Linked DNA regions of Homo sapiens: all the other regions are linked to region 3. The links are contacts of gene promoters, found by promoter capture Hi-C in blood cells and fetal thymus (Javierre and others, 2016). All regions are on one chromosome and are shown on one strand. The core of a region is centred on a gene start or on the middle of the fragment in contact, and the rest is flanking DNA. Distances in the headings are between cores, read along the strand shown. Region 1 holds the start of PRSS8 (serine protease 8). Region 2 holds the start of BCKDK (branched chain keto acid dehydrogenase kinase). Region 3 holds the start of ZNF267 (zinc finger protein 267). Region 4 holds the start of PRSS53 (serine protease 53). Region 5 overlaps ZNF668 (zinc finger protein 668). Region 6 holds the start of FUS (FUS RNA binding protein). Region 7 holds the start of STX4 (syntaxin 4).

What was found. Contacts are between HindIII fragments. The CHiCAGO score rates a contact against its expected background, and 5 or more counts as called.
Region 1: the fragment with the promoter of PRSS8 here is called in contact with the fragment with the promoter of ZNF267 in region 3 in 16 of 17 cell types (naive CD8 T cells, non-activated CD4 T cells, total CD4 T cells and 13 more); the score reaches 32.5 in naive CD8 T cells.
Region 2: a contact is called between the fragment with the promoter of BCKDK here and the fragment with the promoter of ZNF267 in region 3, in 3 of 17 cell types (non-activated CD4 T cells, fetal thymus and monocytes). The highest score is 8.2, in non-activated CD4 T cells.
Region 4: a contact is called between the fragment with the promoter of PRSS53 here and the fragment with the promoter of ZNF267 in region 3, in 7 of 17 cell types (non-activated CD4 T cells, activated CD4 T cells, fetal thymus and 4 more). The highest score is 12.3, in non-activated CD4 T cells.
Region 5: a fragment that was not itself captured here is called in contact with the fragment with the promoter of ZNF267 in region 3 in 1 of 17 cell types (fetal thymus); the score reaches 5.2 in fetal thymus.
Region 6: a contact is called between the fragment with the promoter of FUS here and the fragment with the promoter of ZNF267 in region 3, in 17 of 17 cell types (non-activated CD4 T cells, total CD4 T cells, activated CD4 T cells and 14 more). The highest score is 39.2, in non-activated CD4 T cells.
Region 7: the fragment with the promoter of STX4 here is called in contact with the fragment with the promoter of ZNF267 in region 3 in 16 of 17 cell types (naive CD8 T cells, activated CD4 T cells, non-activated CD4 T cells and 13 more); the score reaches 25.2 in naive CD8 T cells.

What each region holds. Positions count from the first base shown.
Region 1 is chr16:31,134,273-31,137,213 of GRCh38, reverse strand. PRSS8 (serine protease 8) reads left to right here and starts at 1,487. Exons shown (of 6, transcript NM_002773.5): 1 at 1,487-1,800; 2 at 2,043-2,060. The coding sequence starts at 1,716. RefSeq lists an enhancer at 2,426-2,941. The HindIII fragment of the contact is 17,481 bases long and covers 1-2,941 here.
Region 2 is chr16:31,106,550-31,109,714 of GRCh38, reverse strand. BCKDK (branched chain keto acid dehydrogenase kinase) reads right to left here and starts at 1,329. Exons shown (of 12, transcript NM_005881.4): 1 at 1,236-1,329; 2 at 297-668; 3 at 136-204; 4 at 1-42. The coding sequence starts at 491. RefSeq lists enhancers at 1-711, 712-1,605 and a silencer at 937-1,476. The HindIII fragment of the contact is 13,040 bases long and covers 1-3,165 here.
Region 3 is chr16:31,872,421-31,875,580 of GRCh38, reverse strand. ZNF267 (zinc finger protein 267) reads right to left here and starts at 1,774. Exons shown (of 4, transcript NM_003414.6): 1 at 1,612-1,774. The coding sequence starts at 1,614. RefSeq lists silencers at 1,493-1,572, 1,723-1,772 and an enhancer at 1,659-1,953. The HindIII fragment of the contact is 12,710 bases long and covers 1-3,160 here.
Region 4 is chr16:31,087,314-31,090,457 of GRCh38, reverse strand. It overlaps PRSS53 (serine protease 53), which reads left to right and starts at 1,515. Exons shown (of 11, transcript NM_001039503.3): 1 at 1,515-1,706; 2 at 2,632-2,652; 3 at 2,759-2,921. The coding sequence starts at 1,649. RefSeq lists an enhancer at 1,338-1,838. The HindIII fragment of the contact is 23,145 bases long and covers 1-3,144 here.
Region 5 is chr16:31,070,507-31,073,567 of GRCh38, reverse strand. All of the region lies in intron 1 of ZNF668 (zinc finger protein 668), which reads left to right. It also overlaps a transcript of ZNF646 not described here. Among named protein-coding and RNA genes, the nearest start is that of ZNF668, 2.2 kb to the left of the region's middle. RefSeq lists a silencer at 1-177 and enhancers at 66-360, 1-452. The HindIII fragment of the contact is 265 bases long and covers 1,498-1,762 here.
Region 6 is chr16:31,178,396-31,181,481 of GRCh38, reverse strand. It overlaps FUS (FUS RNA binding protein), which reads right to left and starts at 1,343. Exons shown (of 15, transcript NM_004960.4): 1 at 1,255-1,343. The coding sequence starts at 1,267. RefSeq lists enhancers at 68-117, 218-277, 308-397, 1-583, 584-1,345 and 4 more and silencers at 628-677, 798-947, 1,588-1,657. The HindIII fragment of the contact is 6,651 bases long and covers 1-1,367 here.
Region 7 is chr16:31,032,002-31,034,928 of GRCh38, reverse strand. STX4 (syntaxin 4) reads right to left here and starts at 1,371. Exons shown (of 11, transcript NM_004604.5): 1 at 1,094-1,371; 2 at 815-916; 3 at 604-703; 4 at 393-467. The coding sequence starts at 1,123. RefSeq lists enhancers at 513-1,023, 1,536-2,047. The HindIII fragment of the contact is 4,602 bases long and covers 1-2,800 here.

The DNA of each region.
Region 1 (2,941 bases), core at 238-2,737, 740 kb after region 3:
TACAGGTGCGTGCTACCACGCCTGGCTAATTTTTGTATTTTTAGTAGAAATGGGGTTTCACCATGTTGTTCAGGATGGTCTCAAACTCCTGACCTCGTGATTCGTGTGCCTTGGCCTCCCAAAGTGCCGAGATTAGAGGCGTGAGCCACCACACCCAGCCTCAACAGGTGTTTTGAACGGCCAGAGTGGCCCTCAAGGAGGATACATGCCTCACTCCCACCGCAGCCACACGGCAAGCCTTCTTTCCCTGAGCCTCTGCCCTCTGCACCCCATCCCCCCATCTTCGCCTTACCACCTTTTATAATCCCTTTCGGTCTCAGTTTCCAAGGCAATTCCTCGAGGACCCTTTCACAATGCCAGCCTTTGCCAGGCTGTGGTGTGCTCACGCCATTCTTTTTCATCACTATTCCTAGCTTGAAATTATTGTGTAATTGCAATTTTTTTTTTTAAGACAGGGTCTCCCTCTGTTGCCCAGGCTGGAGTGCAGTGGCGTGATCATAGCTCAATGCTTCGTTGAACTCCTGGGCTCAAGCAATCCTCCTGCCTCAGCCTCCCAAATAGCTGGAACCATAGGCATGCGCCACAATGCCTGCCTAATTTTTATATTTCTTTGTAGAGATGAGGCCTCGCTATATTCCCCAGGCTGGTCTGGAACTCCTGGCTTCAAGTGATGCTCCAGCCTCAGCCTCCCAAAGCCGACTAGCCACCTTGCCAGCCTGTTTGTGATTATTTGATTGAAGTGTGTCACCCCTACTTCACCATGAGCTCAGGGCTCAAGGGGGACGGGGCTGGTGCCTGTTTTGTCCTGGACACCTGGGAACATCATAGGCACTTAGGAAATGTCTGTGGGATGATTGGTGCTGCTCCACAAGCTCGCCACCACCCATGAGGTGCAGGCATCGCAGAAAGGGCCTGGCAGGGGACAGACCATAGTGTCTTAAGCTCCCATAACCAGCCTAAGGAGGGAGGGAAGAAGGGAGGAGTGGCTGTGGCTCCAGATAATAAAAGCTGGGGCCAGGCCCTGGGGGGCATAACTGGCCTGAGATAACCTGAAAGACCTGAGGCGGAGGAGAGTCGTCACATTCCAGGGAGACTGCACACACACACAAACCACATGCACGTGCATGCACGCACACTCAGACACACACACTACACACACAGGGACACACACAGCCTACACATGTGCACATACAGCCTGTACATGCACACACACACACATACCACACCACATAAGAGGACACACACAGCCTACACAGGCATACACACACACCACATACACACTACACACCGGGACACACACACAAAAGGCCTATGCATGTGCACACACATACACACGGACACATACATGCACACACACGGGCCTGCAGCTCTGAAAGGACTCATGACTTTGGTGGCAAGAGGAGCTGGCGGAGCCCAGCCAGTGGGCGGGGCCAGGGGAGGGGCGGGCAGGTAGGTGCAGCCACTCCTGGGAGGACCCTGCGTGGCCAGACGGTGCTGGTGACTCGTCCACACTGCTCGCTTCGGATACTCCAGGCGTCTCCCGTTGCGGCCGCTCCCTGCCTTAGAGGCCAGCCTTGGACACTTGCTGCCCCTTTCCAGCCCGGATTCTGGGATCCTTCCCTCTGAGCCAACATCTGGGTCCTGCCTTCGACACCACCCCAAGGCTTCCTACCTTGCGTGCCTGGAGTCTGCCCCAGGGGCCCTTGTCCTGGGCCATGGCCCAGAAGGGGGTCCTGGGGCCTGGGCAGCTGGGGGCTGTGGCCATTCTGCTCTATCTTGGATTACTCCGGTCGGGGACAGGTAAGTGAGGACGTGGGGGCAGGGTGGGGACAATGCACTGGAGGGAGCCGGCGTGATCATTTTCTGGGGTGTGCCCTTGTCTGGGGCCCAAGAAAACCCCCGGCCTCCCTAGCTCTTGGCCTCTCTTTCCCACCTTGGCTCTGTCAGGGAAGGGGCCAGCCCTCTGGAGCAGTGGTGGGTACTAAGGGGTCAGGGAACCCGAGTCTTCCCTACTCACCCCTCCTCTTTCTCTTTCTTTCTAGGAGCGGAAGGGGCAGAAGGTGAGACTTTCCTCGGAGAGGGAGGAGGGGAGGGGGAGGTGACTTGGATCGGATTCCCCTGGGGTTTAACCAGTGCCTGGCCTTCAGCTGGGCTGCCTTCCAACTAGATTCTCTTAGGGCTCCCAGAGTGGGGGGTTTTAGCCCTCACCTTATGGGCAGAGAAGCAGGGACTTGCCCAGGGCACACTGCCAGTGAAGGTGCAGCTGGGATTCAGATCCACGTCTGACTCCCAAAGTGGGGCAATCGAGGTGGTTTTTTTGGTTTGGTTTTTGTCTTTTGAAACAGGGTCTGGGTCTGTCGTCACCCAGGCTGGAGTGCAGTGGCCCGATCGCAGCTCACTGCAGTCTCAGTGATCCAGCCTCCCGGGCTCACGTGATCCTCCCACCTCCCCACCTCAGCCTCCCTAGTGGCTGGGACTACAGGTGCATGCCATCACACCCAGCTAGTTGTGTTTTGTTTTTGTTTTTGTTTTTGTTTGGTAGAGATGTGGGTCTCACTATGTTGGCCGGGCAGGTCTTGAACTCCTGGGCTCAAGCGATCCTCCTGCCTTGGCCTCTCAAAGTGCTGGGATTACAGGTGTGAGCCACCGTTCCCATCCTGGAGGTGGTTTTGAGGGAACCAAACCAAGGGTCTCCTTTCTTGGAAGGCACCCAACCCAGCTCTGAGTCAGACCGGCTTTCAATCCTGGCTTCCCCATGCACTGGCTGTGTGTCATTGGCCAAGTCCCCCCACTTCTCTAAGCCTTAGACTCCTCACCTCTAAAATGAAGCTGGTCATGTCCGTCTCCTGGGGCTGTGGAGAGGATGCAGGGAGATGAGGAAGCGAAAGCCCCTCCAGGGCCTGGCACAGCCGCTAGGCTCTCTAAATAGTGGCTATTGTCA
Region 2 (3,165 bases), core at 80-2,579, 770 kb after region 3:
AATCCTCACTGGAAGTTCTTGCTGCAGGTACCGAGCACTTTTCTGGGAGAAAATGAGAAGGGAAGGCGGGGCTGGAGCCTGAGTGTCTGGGAGAGCTCCAGGATCCACGAGGAAAATAGAGGGCGTGAATCTTACCAGAAGGTGGCTGCCGTCCTGAGAGCGGCCAGCGTAGAGCATCATGGTGGGCGTTAGGCGGACTGAGGGCTAGAGAGGGAGAGAGGCCTTGAGCAGAGAACCCCCAACACTCTCCCTCCCGCCTACATCCCGGACCCTGGGCTGGCTGCCCCCTTGCGCACCTTCTCCGCTGCCGCGTCGATGGCCGACTGGTTGTAAAAGGAGGTGACGGTCTTGGAGCGCTCCCGAGCCATCTCCACGTGGTGTGTGTCGGTGGCCGACGTCGAGCGGGCCCGGAGCGCGAGTGCGGGTCCCAGGAGGGGCCGGAGCGGAAGCCCGCCCCCGGGACCGCTCCTCAGCACCGACGCCAGGATCATCGTCTTGCTCCTTTCAGACCCGGTGGCCGCTAGGACTGAGGATCCGCTAGGACTGAGGACCCAGGCGACCCAAAATGGGGCAAGGGGGTGTGGGTGGGTAGGGGCTCTTCTCCGACTTCAGGGACCAGGGTGCGTCGAGGATGCTGACAGGCTCAGCCCGCGGAGAGCAGCTCCCATCTACCGGGGCGGGGAAGAGGAAGTTGTAAGGATCCGAATCCACAGAACCCGCACCATCTCTCCACCTGTGCATCGGTCTCCCCAGACCCGGGCGACCTCTCCCCACCACTCCCACCGTCTCCCCAGATGCACACAGGCCGCGCCCAAAGGACCTAGCCTCCCGGGGGCTTCTATTCCCCAACCCGAGGCTCTACTGGCGGTGGGAGGGCTGTCGGGGGAGGAGCCCCTCAGACCCTTCCAGCCCGAAAACCTCGCCCCAGCGCCCCGGGGTCCCGGGTACCCTTCTCAGGGGGCGGGGCTGCCCCTGCCTGCCCAGCGCCTTCAAACCCGGGCCCTGGGAGCGCGGCCAGCGAACGTGCGACACCAGCCCTGGGCCCCTGGGGCCGGCTTGGGAGGGTGCGGCACGGAGTCCCCAGCGGGACCCCCCACGCGGGTCACTTGGTTCGGCCCGGATGCCCCCCATATGGTAGATGCCAGCCCCGTCTGCGCGCCCGCGCTGTGATGGAGGCTGCGGACGTGCGCCGCGGGGCCTCCGCGGACTGAGTAGGCTGGGGTCGCCCCACTTACCGCGGGGCCGGAGCCAGGGCCCGGGTCCCAGCGGAAGGGCTCGAACAGTCCACTCGCCAGGCGCCCAGCCGCCTGCGCCCTCCGCCGCCGTGACGTCGCGTGGGCGGCAGCGCCCGCTGGGTCCTGGGAGTTGTAGTTTGGTCTGAGGACGTGCCGTCCCGGGCGCCCGCGCATCCAGGCCACGCCCTTGCTCCCGGACCCCAAACAGCACCGCTTCCTCCACACGGCTCTCGAGGCTCTCCGTGTCCCTCCCAGCCTCTATCTCCTGCTCTATGAAACGGGCTCCCTGGGAGCTGGAAGATCTTAGATGTAAAGCGCACAGATCACGCCCTACCTGACTCCTTCTCGGAGCTCTTGTCCTCCTTCCAGTTCTTGGTTCATTTATGGGTAACCAGGCTTCAAACCCCAGCTCGACCCCTTAATATCTGGAGCAAGTTATTTAACTGCTCAGTGCTTGGTAAGATGAAGAGATATCATCAGTTTTGGGGTTGTGTGGATTACATGAATTTATATGAGTGCCTAGAACAGTGCCAGGCGTGGAATTAGCACTATATAAGGGTTAGGCATTATTATTATTCACTCATGCCTGCAGATAATGCAAGTCGCTGACTGGGTGTCTTTTCTGCACCAGGAGAGGAGATTGGGCAGTGAGTTGAATAGATCTTTCCGTGCCCTGCATAAGAAAACAGTTTCAGTATCATTGGCTGTGATGAGGACTTTCAGAGGAGGCTGCGGGAGCCTCAGATAGAAACTGAGACAGCTGTGTAGGTGCAGCCTGAGTAGGACTTGCAAGGGAGCGGGGTGGGAAGGGTGTGTGGCAGGACAGACAACAGCCCAGATGGTCTGAGGATATGGCTGGAGCCATATGGGATCTGGGAAGGAGAGGGGCGGCAGCAGAGAGCGAAGGATAAGTCTGCATTTGTCCTAGGGTAGTTAGGAACTACTGAAGGGTTTTAACTGGTGGGCTCTCCTCCTTAGACAGAACCCCTTGTCTGCAGTGATTTAGAGTGGGGCGTTTGGTGAGACCAAAGGCAGAGAAACCAATAAGAAGACAATTACTTTAGGCCAGGCGCAGTGGCTCAGGCCTGTAATCCCAGCACTTTGAGAGGACGAGGTGGGCGGATCTCAGGAGTTCCAGACCAGCCTGGCCAACTTGGCAAAACCCCGTCTCTACTAAAAATACAAAAATCAGCCGGGTGTTGTGGCTGGCGCCTGTAATCCCAGCTACTCGCGAGGCTGAGGCAGGAGAATCGCTCGAACCCGGGAGGAGGAGGTTGCAGTGAGCCGATATCCCGCCACTGCTCTCCATCCTGGGCAACAAGAGCAAAACTCCGTTGCAAAAAAAAAAAAAATTATCCAGGCAGGAGGCGCTGGAAGGGACACGTTTCAGTGTGTGCACGTGCATATGTGTGTAGTGTGTATTTGTACTAATTGCAATTTTCTTTACCATGGTTATATATTTCCTAAATATGTTCAATAAAAAGTGCTAAGTGAAGCAAGTGACATCTTTGGAGGCTATCTTTATTTATTTATTTGGAGATGGGGTCTCGCTCTGTTGCTCAAGCTGTAATACAGTCGCTCCATAGTAGCTCACTGCAGCCTCCGACTTAAATGATCCTCCCACCTCAGCCTCTCAAGTAGCCGAGACTGTAAGTGTGCACCACTACCCCCAGGGTGATTTTTTCCCCCTCAGGCAATCCTTTTGCCACAGCCTCCCAAAGTGCTGGGATTACAGACGTAACCCACCGTGCCTGGCCTATTTTTCTTAGAGCCGGGGTCTCGCTATGTTGCCCAGGCTGGTCTCAAATTCCTGGCCTCAGCCTCCTGAGTTGTTGGGGTTACAGGAGTGAGCCACTGGGCCTGGCGGCTGTCTTTAAACTTGGAGGTTAGCCAGGTGCAGTGGCTCATGCTTGTAATCCCAGCACTTTGG
Region 3 (3,160 bases), core at 525-3,024:
ACTGGGGTGGGGTTTTTGTTTTTTGGTCCTTTGGGAGTTTTTCTCCCTTCACAAATCTGAATGAATCTAGGGGGCAGGAATCATTTGTGACTGTTTCCCCTCAATACCAGCAAACGATTGGCTGACCAGCAATGTGTCTCCAAGGGATGAAAACTAGCTTTGAAGAAATAAAATCCTTATGTCCCAAGGGGTTATCTTTTTAGGTTAAGGGTGTCCCAGGAGATTTCTCTCAGCCCCAGGGCATCCAGCTGCTCCCCTGAGGGACTACATTTCCATACCTTGGGCGGTCCTCTAACAGGAGGTGACCTGGGGCTGACAGTCACTAAACACTCCAGGAGACATGGCCACTGTGGGCATCTTGAGTCATCCCAGACAGTTCTGAAATTCAGGAACAGGAAAAGACTGGATAGAGGGTGGCTATACAGGGCCCTGTAAAGTTTCCAAAGCAAAACCTCAAGTCAAAAGACATTCTTTCCGATAACGTGTCTGTGCCTGGGGAAGATGAATGAAAAAGAGGCACAGTTTTTTTTGCAGTGGAGTGTCAGGGATTTTTTATTCTCTGCTTTCCTCTCACGTGAAATGTATGCCAAAAAAACACAAATCTTTAAAAAAGTGTCATCCACTGCTCTGTGAAATCATGATTAATGAGTAAAATACTGTCTGAAATGTACAATAAATGACCAATAGTTAAGAATGTGAACTGGAGAGGGGAAGTTGGCCTTTGGAAATGTCGGGAAGGAACTGGAAATTTAATATTTTATTGCAAGCCCAGTTAGACTGGGGGAACACAGTGGTGGACTTGAGACTCTGCGTGCTACACGTTAGGAAAGCGCAGGGGGAAAACCAGTTCCCCTGGGCAGTGTTAAGATGATTAATGAGCAGGCGATTATACGGAAGTGGTTATAGTGCCCCAGGTTTCTAGGGAGAAAAACCAAAACCAAACTCAAATGCTTTTCTTGTAAATTACAACTTTAGGGGAAAACAAAATTCAGACTTAACGAACCACAAAGCTCCAATTCACCTCCACCTGCATAGTCTAAATAAGGCAACTACAAACTGTAACCCATCGGTTAATTTGGTCTGCTTCCTCATGCACCTTATAAAAACCTTTCCTTCAAGCCCCTCTGGGGATCTCCGAACCACAAACCAGGACTGCAGGCTTCCCATGTCACAAATCGCTATTTGCTCAAATTCTTCAACGTTTTAACAGTGACTCCCTTTAATTCTTAAGAGGAGTAGTGACTGAGGACCCCACAGGGCACGGTTTCTTCCCACACACCGAACCTGGGTCTCCCCTGAGACGCTCCCGTCCTCACCGCACAATCTGGGGGAGACGCGGGGCTGCGACGCGGAGCTGCCCAGAGAGGGCTCCGGCCAGGGACGAGGTCGCTCTGCGGGGTCGGGATGGGACAGGACACGCGGGGTCCCGGCTGCCGGCCTGGCCGCCATCTTGCAGCGGAGGGGACCGAGGGCCGAGCTGCACCAGTTGGGACTCGGGGCCCAGACCCCGAGGCTGACTGCGGGGAGGCCCGGGTGCCCCTACAGCGGGTTCCCGCCGCTTCCGACCACCGCCCTCCCTCCCTCTGGGGACCCCCGACCCCGCACACTCACCATTTCCCAGCTTCCGGGATGCCCTGGCGTCTTAGCTACGAATCTCCCAGTGCCTGCAAGTCGCAGAGCAACAGAGGTTCTGTTTATTCTCAGAACGCGAAGCCGCCTGGGCCTCCCAGAACGAAAGACTCGGAGCTGTGGCGAGGAGACCCGAGCTCTAACTGGAGCCGACGAAGGCCCCCGCCAAATCCCGGAAGCCGCCCCTGCTCTCCGGCTTCACTCCTGATTGGACGGTTTCCACTCCAGCGCCCCTGATTGGATAAAGCTCCATGCCCCGCCCCCTCATTATTAGTGCCTTTTTTTTTTTTTTTTTTGAAAGGGAGACTGGCTCATTGAGGTGGGGCCGCCTGCTGCGGGTATTACAGCTAATTAAGGGGTGAGCTGCGACTTGAAATACACTTGCTCTTTCCCTTACCTGGTTCTGCTTGTATAAGACATCTTATTAGCTAATTAAGTTTAAGAAGAAGTATATTTAGACACCTTTAAAGCAAGAAAGACCCTCATCCCGTCCCTTAGCACCTCTCTTACCGCACTGTACCCCACTGCTAACGCCACCGTGGGAGGGGGCCCCTCAGCTGGGAACAGAAGGCCGTACACTTCATTCACGTGTTTTCAATTAGGCCCTCGCATGATACATAGACTGAACCAGTGCAAAAGCATCTTATAGGGGCATGCAGGCTGGGGTCCCAGGAGGATGTTGCGGGCCGTGGTGGAACGTGGAAGAGGGGCTGGCCTATTCTTCTAATCTACAACTCTGCCCGCATCTCCTGGAGTCTGCATCACTGGTAACGGGGCCGCTGACTGTCCGTCTGTCTCTCCTTCTCAATCCCTTCAAGCTCAGGGAAGAAGGGTCCTTGGCAGCGACAGGGCTGGGAGCTCAGTTCCTCTGGGCCGTGCTGGCTCAGGCTCTGTGGCCACGGACTCCTCAGCCCTACCTCTGGTTTTTGCTTTTGTTTTGAGACAGGGTCTCACTCTATTGCCCAGGCTGGTGCAGTGGTGCAGTCATGGCTCACTGCAGCCTCCGGGGCTCAAGCAATCTTCCCACCTCAGCCTCCTGAGTAGCTGGGACTACAGGCACATGCCACCATGCCCGGCTGATTTTTGTATTTTTTGTAGAGATGAGGTTTCACCATGTTGCCCAGGCTGGTCTCCATCTCCTGAGCTCAAGCGATCCTCCCACCTTAGCCTCCCAAGTAACTGGGGCTACAGGTTAATAGTCAGTTCGCCAACTCCTGAGCTCAAGTATTCTGTCTGCTTTGACCTGCCAGAATGCCCTATTCCTGTTTTTCTGGAGTCTTGGAGCTAGTGGCGCTGCAGCACCTCGTAGTCTTCCGGCTGAGTAGATTCTCCTAGTCTTCTGGCTGAGTAGAAGGTGGGAGAGGAGGTGGGTGTCAAACTGGGCCAGGGCCCTCGGCCGCCATCTAGCTTGGTTAAACTCCCACTTGGGACAGATCAGGCTCTGTGCCTTATTCAGTGAGACGTGTGGAACAAATGCTTCCCTCCCCAAAGCAGAAACATCCCTGATTGCTGACAGTCAGGATTCCATGCA
Region 4 (3,144 bases), core at 266-2,765, 780 kb after region 3:
GGTTGTGAAGGTTTTTGTTTTGCCTATTATGCCCTGACCACTTACCTACATGCCAAGCACTGTTTAAGAACTTGTGTTGGCAGGGTGCAGTGGCTCACACCTGTAATCCCTGTACTTTGGGAGGCCAAGGCAGGAGGATCACTTGAGGCCAGGAGTTCCAGACCAGCCTGGGCAAAATAGTGAGACCCCTGTCTCTACAAAAAAAAAAAAAAAAAAAAATTAGCCAGGCATGGTGGTGTATGTACCTATAGTCCCAACTAATCGGGAAGCTGGCGGGAAGACTGCTTGAGCCCAGAAGGTTGAGGCTGCAGTGAGCCATGATCACTGCACTCCAGCCTGAGCAACAGAGCAAGACCGTCTCCAAAAAAAAACAAAAAACAAAAAAAAACTTGTGTTAACGTGTTAAACTCGTTTAATCTTTACAGTGATTTATGAGGTGGGTACTATTATTATCCCTATCTTGATGATAGGGACAGAGTGGCTAATTAGTATGCCTGAGATCACACAGCTACTGCAGGAGGCTCTCAGGATTTGAATCCACCTGGTCCATCTGGCTCCAGCATCTATATGCTTTTTTTTTTGTTGGTTTGTTTTTGAGACGGACTTTCGCTCTTGTTGTCCAGGCTGGAGTGCAATGGCACAATTTCGGCTCACCACAACCTCCACCTCCCAGGTTCAAGTGATTCTCCTGCCTCAGCCTCCCGAGTAGCTGGGATTACAGGCATGCGCCACCAGGCCTGGCTAATTTTGTATTTTTAGTAGAGACAGTGTTTCTCTATGTTGGTCAGGCTGGTCTCGCACTCCCGACCTCAGGTGATCTGCCTGCTTTGGCCTCCCAAAGTGCTGGGATTACAGGCGTGAGCCACCATGCCCGGCCAGCATCTATAATATATGCTAAACCTTACCCACAGCTGCCTCTGTCTTGGGGTCAGGGTTCTTGAATGGTCTGGGCCAGCCTGAGTTAGGAGTGGGAAGAGGAAGAGGAGGCACGCGCCAAAGTGTTCTTCCCGCCTGACCGAGTCCTCTGCGCCTATGAGGAAGGTGGGCACCGCTGTCACCCTGTTTCCCAGGAAGCCAGCAGGCCCAGGGAGATACTGGGATTTGCCAAAGGCTCACAGCGAGCAAGCAGCAGTGGGTGCTGGCTCCTCACCACTCAGCCTGGCACACACTGTCTCTGAGCAGACCTGGGAGAAGGCATGTGAAACCCACCTAGCCCTGGCTGGAAGAGAAGTGGGGGAGTGGAAATGAAAAGTGGGGACTGGGAGGAGCTGCCCACGTGCCCTCCATGGTTCCAGGATGGCACTTTCATGCTGGGAGTGAGCTTGCCCTGTGCCAGGCTGTCATTGAGACGTTTTCCATTCAACAACTGTTTCTCAGACAAGGCACAGGCAGGTTAGCTCTCCCAGGCCACTCAAGTAGTAAGGAAACAGATTTAAACCCAGACAATTTGGCTCCACGGCTAAGGCCCAGAGAGGGGTGGTGACAAGCCTAGGGTCACACAGCCACAGCCCCAGAGCTAGGAACTGCTGGCTAGGGCAAGCAGACAGCTGAATCCTAGCCAACTGGAGGTGGAGCAGAGGTGGAGCCAGGGAGACCCAGGTGGCCTCTCTCAGAGTGGAGCACAGGTGGCAGAGTGGCCCGGGGCAGCATGAAGTGGTGCTGGGGCCCAGTGCTGCTCATCGCGGGTGCCACAGTCCTCATGGAGGGTAAGCCGCCATGTGCTGGGGTATGGGTGTGGCCTGGTGGGGGCTCAGGGGCCATCTCTGCCCCAGCAGTCCCTGCTTCTTGGTGGGGGGACCGCCTGTGGGCGACAGTCCACCAGTGGGGATGTAACTCCGTAGGACTCTGTGGGGTGGTATATGTGGCCACCTGTGTCAACATGGATGAGATTTTCTCGGGCCAGCTGCAGTTTGCGTTGGCGGGGCCTGTGGTCTTGTGTGTGTGTGAGGTGCTGCCTGCGTGTGTCCTGTGCCTGCCTCCCCCTCGACTTCCACAATGACGTCAGGCAAACTCTGGGCTCCTCTGGCCTCAGTTTCCCTTTCTTTTCATCCATCCTCTGGGCAGCCTGGCTCAGCTGTCTCATGGGGTGCCTGTGTGCCTGTGAGGGGCGGTGGGCAGGGGCCCTCTCTCTGGCGGGCTCTCAGACAGTTTCTGGGAAGGTGGGGAAGACTGAGTCTCTAGACCAGGGTGAGGTAAGTCTCCATTTCTTGGGGCCCTCCCCACTTGGAAATGATGCAGGCCTCTAATCCTTCCTCTTAGGCCTCTGCTGCTAAGAGGACAATTAAGCTAATGCTCTCTACACACACAGGCCGCCTGGCTGACTCAGTGGCGGGGGCAGGAGTTGGGGGTTCTGAAGCCTGGAGGAGGGCTGGCCTACTCCCAAGCTGAACCCCAAGCCCCAGAGTGCTGAGCACAGCTGAAGGAGAATTAATTACTGAGTGTGCACACTGAATAGGTTCCAATAAAAGCTGTCTCGGCCTCATATAAATATTTTCATTCTGGGAGGGGCTGGTAAGGTAATCAGAGTCACAGGCAAGGACCCTGGGCCCGCCCCCCAGCCCATCCCCTCTCCTCCCCAAAGCTAGGCAGGCCTGGAGTCCCTGCATCTTACCTGTGTCTCTCTCTTCCCAGGTCTTCAAGCCGCTCAGCGTGGTAAGGTCTGGGGACACGGGGCCTAGGTCTTACTTGGGTCTGGGTTGGGACTGGGGTGAGGTCAGGACAGGTATCTGCTGTCAGTGTGACTAACTCCTTTCCACAGCCTGTGGACAGCGTGGCCCCGGCCCCCCCAAGCCTCAGGAGGGCAACACAGTCCCTGGCGAGTGGCCCTGGCAGGCCAGTGTGAGGAGGCAAGGAGCCCACATCTGCAGCGGCTCCCTGGTGGCAGACACCTGGGTCCTCACTGCTGCCCACTGCTTTGAAAAGTAAGTCATGGCTGGGGTCAGGCAGGGTCTCCGGCTCTGGGGAGTGGACAATTTGTCTCAAGCCCCACAAGGCTAGTCCCTGCCTCTAGAGTAATAATAAAGAACCATTTACTGAGAATCTGCCATGTACTGGGTACATATTGTCAAGTTAATTGTAACAACCACCTTTCATGGTAGAAGATTTACAAATCAGAAAACTCAGGTTGCAAGGGAATGACCTCGC
Region 5 (3,061 bases), core at 381-2,880, 800 kb after region 3:
GGGCGGGCCGGGTTGGCCCAGCGCGAGCAGCGCGGGCGGGGCGGGCTGTGAGCGGCCCCGGGCGCATTGCGGGCCCAGCAGGTCCTAGAACCCGCCGGCTGTCTCCGCGGTTCTGGGCTGCGGACACCCAGGCTCGGCCCGCGCGGCTGCTGGCCCGGCGCGGTGTGGTCCCGGGGGTCCTAGAGCCCGCCATGTTTTGGGTTTTTGTCCCGGTCGCGTGGCCCGCGCTGCAAGATCCCAGGCGCCGGCGGCCCCCTCCCCTGCTGAGGCCCGGCCACCACTCCCGCGGTCCTAGAGAACGCCATCTTGCAAGCCTTTGTCCCTCATTCGGCCTTCCGTCCATTCATTTGTTCATCTCCTCATCCTTCGTTCAGTCCTCCTTGCCACGTCCTCCGAAGCCACGTTTTCTGAGGCTTATAACCGGGGTCCTGCCCTCCAGGGGCTGCCTGGCTGGCGGGGGCGCCGCGTACAGACGGTTGCGAGGAGCGAGGAGCTCCGGGTTTCTGCAACTCTCGGCTCCTCGGCGCGCTTCGTAGGCCCCACCGCCCTTCAAACTCCCACAAACTTAAGGGACCCCATTTTACTGATGAGGAAACTGAGGTCCAGAGCGGCGTGGGGCCCTTACCTCTCTACTGCCATAAAGTATTCCTGAGGGCACTAGGGAAGGGGGTTCTTGAAGGATGTAAAGGGGCTTTCCCGTTGGAGAAGGCAGGCAAGGGCTCCCCGAGCCCAGGAAACTGCATCTAGAGGTGGAGGATTGAGAATTGTGGCTGGAGGTTCGGTCGCTGCCGGGAGGAGGACTCTGTCGCTGGAGCTGAGGCTGGAAAAGTAGGTTGGGATCAGGTTGTGAACTGGCCCGGTAGGAGGCCTAGGATATGATTAGCGCTCACTTCTGCAGGGTTCATCCGCTCACTACGTCACTCCTGGCCGTGAGGCCTGTGTGGTGACTGCTTGTTTAGAGATGGGAAGATTGAGGTGCCTCCTTTTTCTCCTCATCCCTGCCCCAGGGTCCTAGCCTAGGATTTTTGGAAATTGAATCTTTGCTTGCCTAGTGAGACAGCAGAACTTCATCCCCTTCCTAAGCCAGTAGTGAGGCAAAGCAAGGCTTCATCGCCACGACAGGGAGCCCACTGTGGGATATTGGGGCAATAGTTGAGCCTTGTGGAGTTGGAAAGGTGGAGGAATTTAGTTAATAAACAGTTATTGGTGGACATTCTCACAAACTCCTACTGTGGAGGAGGCAGAGGCTACAGACCTGGGTTCAAATTTCATCTGAGGTTGGTTCTTTCCATTTGTTTTGGGTCACCACACAGGGTTCTGGGTGTAGAGGAGGCAGATGATCGGTTTCCTAGCCCTTTGCCAGCCTGGACTCTGGTGCTGGTGATGAAGAATTAACAGCCAAACCATAAGATGTGTAATGCTAGCAAAGCAATAGTCAGGGCTCAGAGAGCAGGTGTTTGGGATTTGAACACTGGCTGGGACCGTGACTAGTAAGCTTGTTTCTTTGTGGTGTCACTTCTCATAAGAACGCTAATCCTACTGGACCAGGGCCATACCCTTATGACGTCATTCAGCCTTAATTACTTCCATAAAGGCCTTGTCTCCAAATACAGTCACAATGAGAGTTAGAATTTCAATATATGAATGGACAGGGAACACAAACATTCACTCATAATGAACTGCTAGGCAGCTGTGCAGTTGGCTTGAGTAGTTGAGTATTATGCACAAAATGCTTAGAATGATACCTTGCCCATGGTAAGCTTGCAAGGAGTATTGTCCAGATGACACCATAAAGGAAATTAGAGAGGAGGGGTGCTGGTCACTGTGGCTCATGCCTGTAATCACAGCACTTTAGGAAGCCATAGTGGAGGAGCATCTGAAGCCAGGAGTTCTTGAGACCACTGTCGGCAGCGTAGTGAGACCTCCATCTCTATATACAAAGAATTTTTAATAAATTAGCGAGGTGTGGTGGTGGGTGCCTATAGTCCTAGCTACTCAGGAGGATTGCTTGAGTGCAGGAGTTTGAGGCTGAAGTGAGCTATGATTGAGCCACTGCACTCCAGGGTGACAGAGTGAGACCCAATCTCTAAATAAAAATAAAGGCCAGGCACGGTGGCTCACGCCTGTAATCCCAGCACTTTGGGAGGCTGAGGCGGTCGGATCACTTGAGGTCAGGAGTTCGAGACCAGCGTGGCCAATGTGGTGAAACCCTGTCTCTACTAAAAATACAAAAGTTTGCCAGGTGTGATGGCTTTCGCCTGTAGTCCCAGCTACTCGGGAGGCTGAGGCTGGAGAATCACTTGAATCCGGGAGGTGGAGGCTGCAGTGAGCTGAGATGCAGCCACTGCACTCCAGCCTGGGCAACAAAGACTTTCTCTCAAAGAAAATAAATAAATAAAAATGAAATAAATAGGCCGGGCATGGTGGCTCAAGCCTGTAATCCCAGCACTTTGGGAGGCCAAGGTGGGTGGATCACCTGAGGTCAGGAGTTCCAGACCAGCCTAGCCAACATGGCCATCTCTACTAAAAATACAAAAAATTAGCTGGCTGTGGTGGCAGGCACCTGTAATCCCAAATACTTGGGAGGCTGAGGCAGAAGAATTGCTTGAACCCAGGAGGCAGAGGTCGCAGTGAACTGACATCACACCATTGCACTCCAGCCTGGGCAACAGAGGGAGACTCTGTCTCAAATAATAATAACAATAAATAATAAAATAAATAAAAATAAGCCAGGCACGGTGGCTCATGCCTGTAATCCCAGCACTCTGGGAAGCCGAGGCAGTGGATCATCTGAGGTCAGGAGTTCGAGACCAGCCTGGCCAACATGGTGAAACTCCATCTCTACTAAAAATACAAAAAATTAACCAGGCGTGGTGGTGGATGCCTGTAATTCCAGCTACTCGGGAGGCTGAGGCAGGAAAATCTCGTGAACCGGGGAGGCGGAGGTTGGAGTGAGCAGAGATGGTGCCATTGCACTCCAGCCTTGGCAACAAGAGTGAAACTCTGTCTCAAAAATAAATATATAAATAAAAATAAAAACATTTTTTAAAAAGTAAAGAGG
Region 6 (3,086 bases), core at 94-2,593, 690 kb after region 3:
GGCGAAAGTCAACAGGTACTCGAGTCCCCAGCCCTGGGACTCCAGATGGTTCCGTTTTCTCACCTACCCTGCCTTCCCCCAGCGAACAAAAAGCAACAAAAGCGCTTTTGAAAAGCCCCACTTAAGATACACGAACAAGATCAACTCATCCTCCCAGCACAGGAAACGCGGCGCTTCCCCCGCAGGAAAAGGGAAAGAGGACCAGGAGAGGGTGTGGCCTCGGGCGGCCGTTCTTCTCCGTCCCTATCTCAGAAAAAAGAAATTTAGACCAGGCGTGGTTGGCTTACGTCTGTAATCCCGACACTTCGGGAGGCCCAGGCGGGCGGATCACCTGAGGTCAGCAGTTCGAGACCAGCCTGACCAACATGGTGAAACCCCGCCCCTACTAAGAAACACAAAAATTAGCCGGGCTGTGGTGGCGGGCGCCTATAATCCCAACTACTCAGGAGGCTGAGGCAGAAGAATCACTTGAACCCAGGAGGTGGACGTTGCAGTGATCTGAGATCGCACCACTGCACTCCAGCCTGGGCGACAGAGGAAGACCGTGTCTCCAAAAAAAAAAAGAAAGAAATTTAGGCGGGAAAAACTCTCGGGCCGTCCCCAAGTCCGTTGGTCGAACCCTGACCACCGCCGCCAAACCGTTAAGCTAGAGGGCGGCCCCGATCCCGAGCCTCCGCCCCCAGCCGCGTGGCAACCCAGGCGGGAACGGAGCGATCCCGCCCATTCGCGAAGGACCACTGAGGGACAAGGCTCACACCGGACGCGCGCCGCCGAGTCTTCCGCGAAGGGTCTCGCGACAGAAAGCTGAACCAACACGAGGCGGGGAAGGGGTACCCGCGCCGCGAAGGGGGAGGGGCCCGCAGAGCGCGTGCGCGCCGCGAGTGCCCGGATGCAGCACTGCGACAAAGCGGGCTCGAGCGCGGGGCCGGGAGTTGGGGGAGGCGAGGCCACGGAGAATGGGCGTTTTCCACCCTCACCTGACGCTTCAAACCCCTAAGAAGCGTCCCTCCCAACGCCCACCCCAAGCAAACGGACTGCAAAGAAAAGACTTCCCGCCCCGCGCGCGAGGGCCAGAGGAGCGAAACAAAATGGCGACACCAGCCTCCTCCAGTTACTCTTCTCCGCGGCTTCCCGCCACAGGGGCGCCAAAAAATCCCACACGGGATCGCCGCCCCGGTCCCACTGAAAACGAAAAGCCCAGCTGGGAGGCCTCGGCCGGGTGCGCCGCCGCCGTCGCCTCGCGCCCTTACCTACCGTTTGAGGCCATGTCCGCGCACGCGCGCACAGGCAAGCAAGCAACGAAGTTCCAACACCGCTGAGTACCGACGCCTGGAGGACTGAGCAGCCCCGCCTCCTGCGTCGAAGCTTAAGTACGCTCCGCCGCCTACGCACCGCGCAGGCGCGCACCAAACGCGGAAGAGCAGGGGGAGGCAGGAACGCACTCCGCCCCCTTCGTAGGGCAGGTAGAGGGTCCGAGCAGGCAGAAGGGAAACAAGTTAACTAGAATCATGCGAATACTATACATAATCATATTTTTTGAGGAAGAACCCCTCTCTCCTCGGCAGGACTAGCCCACGATCTATCTCCACCCCCATGAAGGCACAGTGGTACGGCCTGAGTGCCCGCTGGGGGCGGGGCGAGGGGGCGGTCCCGGCGGCTGGGGACGAAACTGGAGTCACAGCCGGGAGTAGCGGGGTGGAACCGAGATTCCTGTGGCCGGGCCCCTTCGCTGGGCCCCGCTTTCACCCAGGATGGCGAGCTCCTGCCCTCCACCCTCTTGCCGCTGTATGGGGCGCCTCGTCCCCGCGGCTCCAGCCTCCCTCGTCGGCAGCACACTGGCCCTCCCTCTCCTGCGCCCTGAGGTTGACTTCGTCGTCTTTCAGGGTTGCCTTGCCTTTCGGCCTTTCTGGGGTTCGGGGATTATGACGTTTGACCTGAAAGACAGCAGGGATTTCGGCCGGGACCCCTGGGCCCCGGGCTCGTCCAGCACTGGGCTCTCACCCGGATCCTCATGGCTTTGCCCCTGGGGAGCCACGGGGCGGAACAGCCCAGGCCATCCTTGGGACCAGAGAGGGTTGACCTCAGATGTACGGTACCCAGCCTTTTCTCAGGGACCTCCTTTTTATTTTTCTGAAGCCCTACCAGGGCGATCCCAGAAATAAAACGTGTACAAGGCTTAAGTGGTTTCAAAATGCACAGATAATTTCCTTGTCATCAGTCTTACGAAGGAAGTAAAGATACCTCCGTTTTCTAGATAAGGAAAGTGAGACTCAGAGACCCAAGTAATTGTGCCTGATTACAGGGCAGCTAAGAGGAGTCGTGATTCGAATCCAGGTCTTGTAACTGCAAAACACTCCTCTTTTTGGTGGCATGAATGCTAGAGTGTTTGGTCGCCTTTTCACTTCCTGTGAGAGCAAAAGCAAAAAGAAACATTCAAATTAACTTGCAACTTGCACTTTCATCAGCCTTGCCTGGAGAAGGCAATTTGAAACTACTGAATAAAACAAGACAAAAGACGTTAATTCCTGATACATAGGCATGCAGGTTTTCCTTCCCAACTTAACCTTTCAGCGGGATTTCAGAAGGTCCTTTGAGGGTTGGACACGTCTTTCTAGAGAAACAATGAGGGCCATGCCCTGGGCCCGCCCACAAATTAAGCCCCACTAAGCCCTTGACTTCAGCCCTAAAGGCCCTGAATATGCCAATATCCACCCCACCGCCTTTGGAAGGAGAGTTCAACTCTCCAGTGAGAGCAAAAGAAAGGAAGTCCACCCTTATTCATGCATTAAGTCACAAATATTTATTTAGCACCTAGTATGTTCCAGGCACTGTTCTGGGCACTGGGTATGCATTCGTGTACAAAGCAGATGAAGTTAACATTTAATAATAAAGCTGACCGGGTGCGGTGGCTCACGCCTGTAATACCAGCACTTTGGGAGGCCGAGGCGTGTGGATCACGAGGTCAGGAGTTCGAGACCAGCCTGGCCAACATGGTGAAACCCCGTCTCTACTAAAAATACAAAAATTAGCCAGGCGTCGTCCGCGCATCTGTAATCCCAGCTACTCAGGAAGCTGAGATGGGAGAA
Region 7 (2,927 bases), core at 122-2,621, 840 kb after region 3:
AGGATTTTTAGGGAAATATAATTTATCATAAAATGACTAAGGCTGAGCCTCTAAGAGGAGAAAGTAAGTTTATTTTTCTTTGCATTACATCACTGAGTTCCCATAGGTATGCAGAGGCCACCTAACAAAACTCCATCTCCCTGCCCAAAGAATGCCCAGTGGGCAGCGATAACTGTGTAAGTAAATGGTTTCATTGTAAATAAAAGAACCTGAGAGGCGGACTTGTGCTGTGGAGAGTACAATGGCCTGGAGGCCAGGAGACAGATGCTAGACCCAGGCCTGCTGTGTGACCTGGATATATCACTGGCTTCTCTGGGCCACACACTCCCCAGATATACCAACAACAGGGCAGGATCAGAGGGAAGGATCTGTCTGAGGTCCCAGGAGCTCACCCTTCAGCTGCAGGCGGATCTCCCTCCCCAGCTGTTTGATCTCATCGCGCAGGTTCTGCAGCTCCTGCTTCATGCCTGAATAAGAGAAGGCCAAGACTCCCAAACAGCAGCCCCCACCTCAACAAACCACTCTGGCCACCACCTGCGTGGAACTACAACCCCCACAATCCCTGGGGCGGAGCATGCGCCCTGCAGCCGGGGTTTCACTCACTCTCCTCGGGAAGGGGCGTGGCCAGGATGGTGACCTGCTGTTTCTCCAACTCCTGGACTTTATTCCCCAGTTTGACAATAGTCTGCCGAATTGTCCGGACCTGGGGAGGGTGACCGAGAGGGCTGAAAGAGATATGGGGTACTCCAGACCACGCTACTCCTCGGGTCCTCCTACACCCTCGCGAATCCAGGCGGAGACCCCAGCCCCTTACCTTGTGGAAGAACTCCTCGTCCGGGCTCCCCAGCCGTGCCGTGCCCGGGTGCACCACCAGCGCGACCCGCTCCTTGTCCTCTTCGTCCGAGCTGTCATCCCCCTGCCAGGCCCGGAGTCATTGGCACCACCGTTTCGCTGCGGCTCTTACCCCGCAGGACCCACAGGCTTCCGGGACTTTCCTTCCTGGCCATCAGCCACCCCTCCCTATCCCGAAGACCAGAAGTCCTGCGTTCCAGTTCGTCCGCCCGTCCCCATCCCCGCTGCCCTGGCGTCTCACCTGTCTCAGCTCGTGGGTCCTGTCCCGCATGGCGGCCTGAGCTCTCCCTCCCCGGCGCCAGAGCCGGGAGGCCCTCAAATTTGGAATTCCCGTACCCCGCTCACACTCTGACACTCCCCTCCCTCCCCCTGCGGACCCCAACACCCCCACGAGCCGCCAGAGGCTCCGTCCCTTGCACCGCCCACAGTCAATGGGAAGGCGCCGACCCCGGGGACCCCCCAAGGTTCCACAGGTTGGAATTCCCTTTTCTTCCCCGCTCCAGCTCCCGCAGCCTCAGCCCCGCCCCTCCGTGATAAATTCGGGGCATGCGCACATGGTCGCGTCTCTTCCTTGCCCGAGGCTGGGAAGGTGGAGTCGGAAGTTGTTGCGCCCCGAGCGGAAGCGGAGATGCCTGGACGCGAGAACTTGCTACCGTCACCGGAACCGTTGCATCTTCCAACGGAAATCTGGTTGCCAAAAGGGGTAGGAATACGTCATTTGTACGTAATCCGAGACACCCGCATCTCACATCACCCCATGGTGCCCCCACCGCGTCACGTGACCAGCCCGGTCCCAAACTCGTGGACCGCAGAATGTGACCCTGTGACTGTCACGTGTCCCGGCTCTGTCACCGCCGTCTCTGGGACGCCGTTCTCATCACGACGTCCCCGGCACCCCAACGACCGAGCGACGCCCACACGGCCCCCGCGAGGTGGGGAGGGGCGCGCCGACCACCCCCAGAGGCCTTTCGAGGCAGTGGGTGGTAGGACCCTTGCTGACCTCGCCTTTATTGCTTTCGGGTCCAGGGCGTGGGCGGACTGACGACTTAGCATTTGGGGCTGTCAGCATCATGGGACCTTGAAAATCGGGAAATAATAGGATCCGAGTCGTCAGCGTCAGAAAATTGCAGGGTTGTGTGGGCAGGGAATCTGGGGGTGGGAAGTGACCTCAGCCAAGGCAGAAATCTCTTCTTCCGCATCCTTCTGGCGCAGCCTCTGACAGGTGGGCGGCCAGCCGGCGCCCTCCTTGAACACTGCAGCCCGGCTGCACTCACCACCTTGTGAGCCGTCAGACCATGTCAGGGCAGCTCAGGCTAAGAAAAGTGTTTGTATTGATCACGCTGCCTCCCTGCCACTCACACCCCCCAGCCCCTGCCTTGCATCTGAGGCCAGGTAATGACTTTGTTCTTAACTGAATCTGGGGAGTTCCTAGCCCAGTACCAAGAACATTACGGGCCCTCTATAAATACTTGTGGACAGAATTTCAGGCTTTCATGTATCTGAGGATAAAGCCCCTGGTTCCTTGGTCTTCTTTAGGCTTCAGGCTTTCTGACTGTGACACTTCTCTAATCCTGGCTATCTAGATATTCACTCATTTTTTATTTTTAAAAATTTTTACGAGATGCGGTCTCACTATGTTGTCCAAGCTGGTCTCTAACTCCTGGGCTTAAGCAATCCTTCTGCCTCAGCTTCCCAAAGTGCTGGGATTACAGGCATGCACCACCATGCACAGCAACATTCAGTCATTTAATGGATATTTTTTGGGCACATAGTATGGGCCAAACACTGTTCTAGGGCTGGAGATACATCAAGGACTAATAGACAAAAATTCCTGCACTCGTGGAACTTATATTCTCTAGAAGGAGTCCCCAAGGTCACTCAGCAAGTCTCAGCATAGCCGGGAATGAATAACAGGTCTCCTGGACCCCAGGGCTCTGTCCAGGAAGCTTCTGTGAAGGTACAAGCAAGGAAAGGAATGGACCCTTTCTGCTATGCCCTGGTCAGGAAACCTAGATTCCTGGGACTGAGTTGCTATGGACTTCTGGAAATCGCTTCCTGTCTCTAAGTGTGGATCT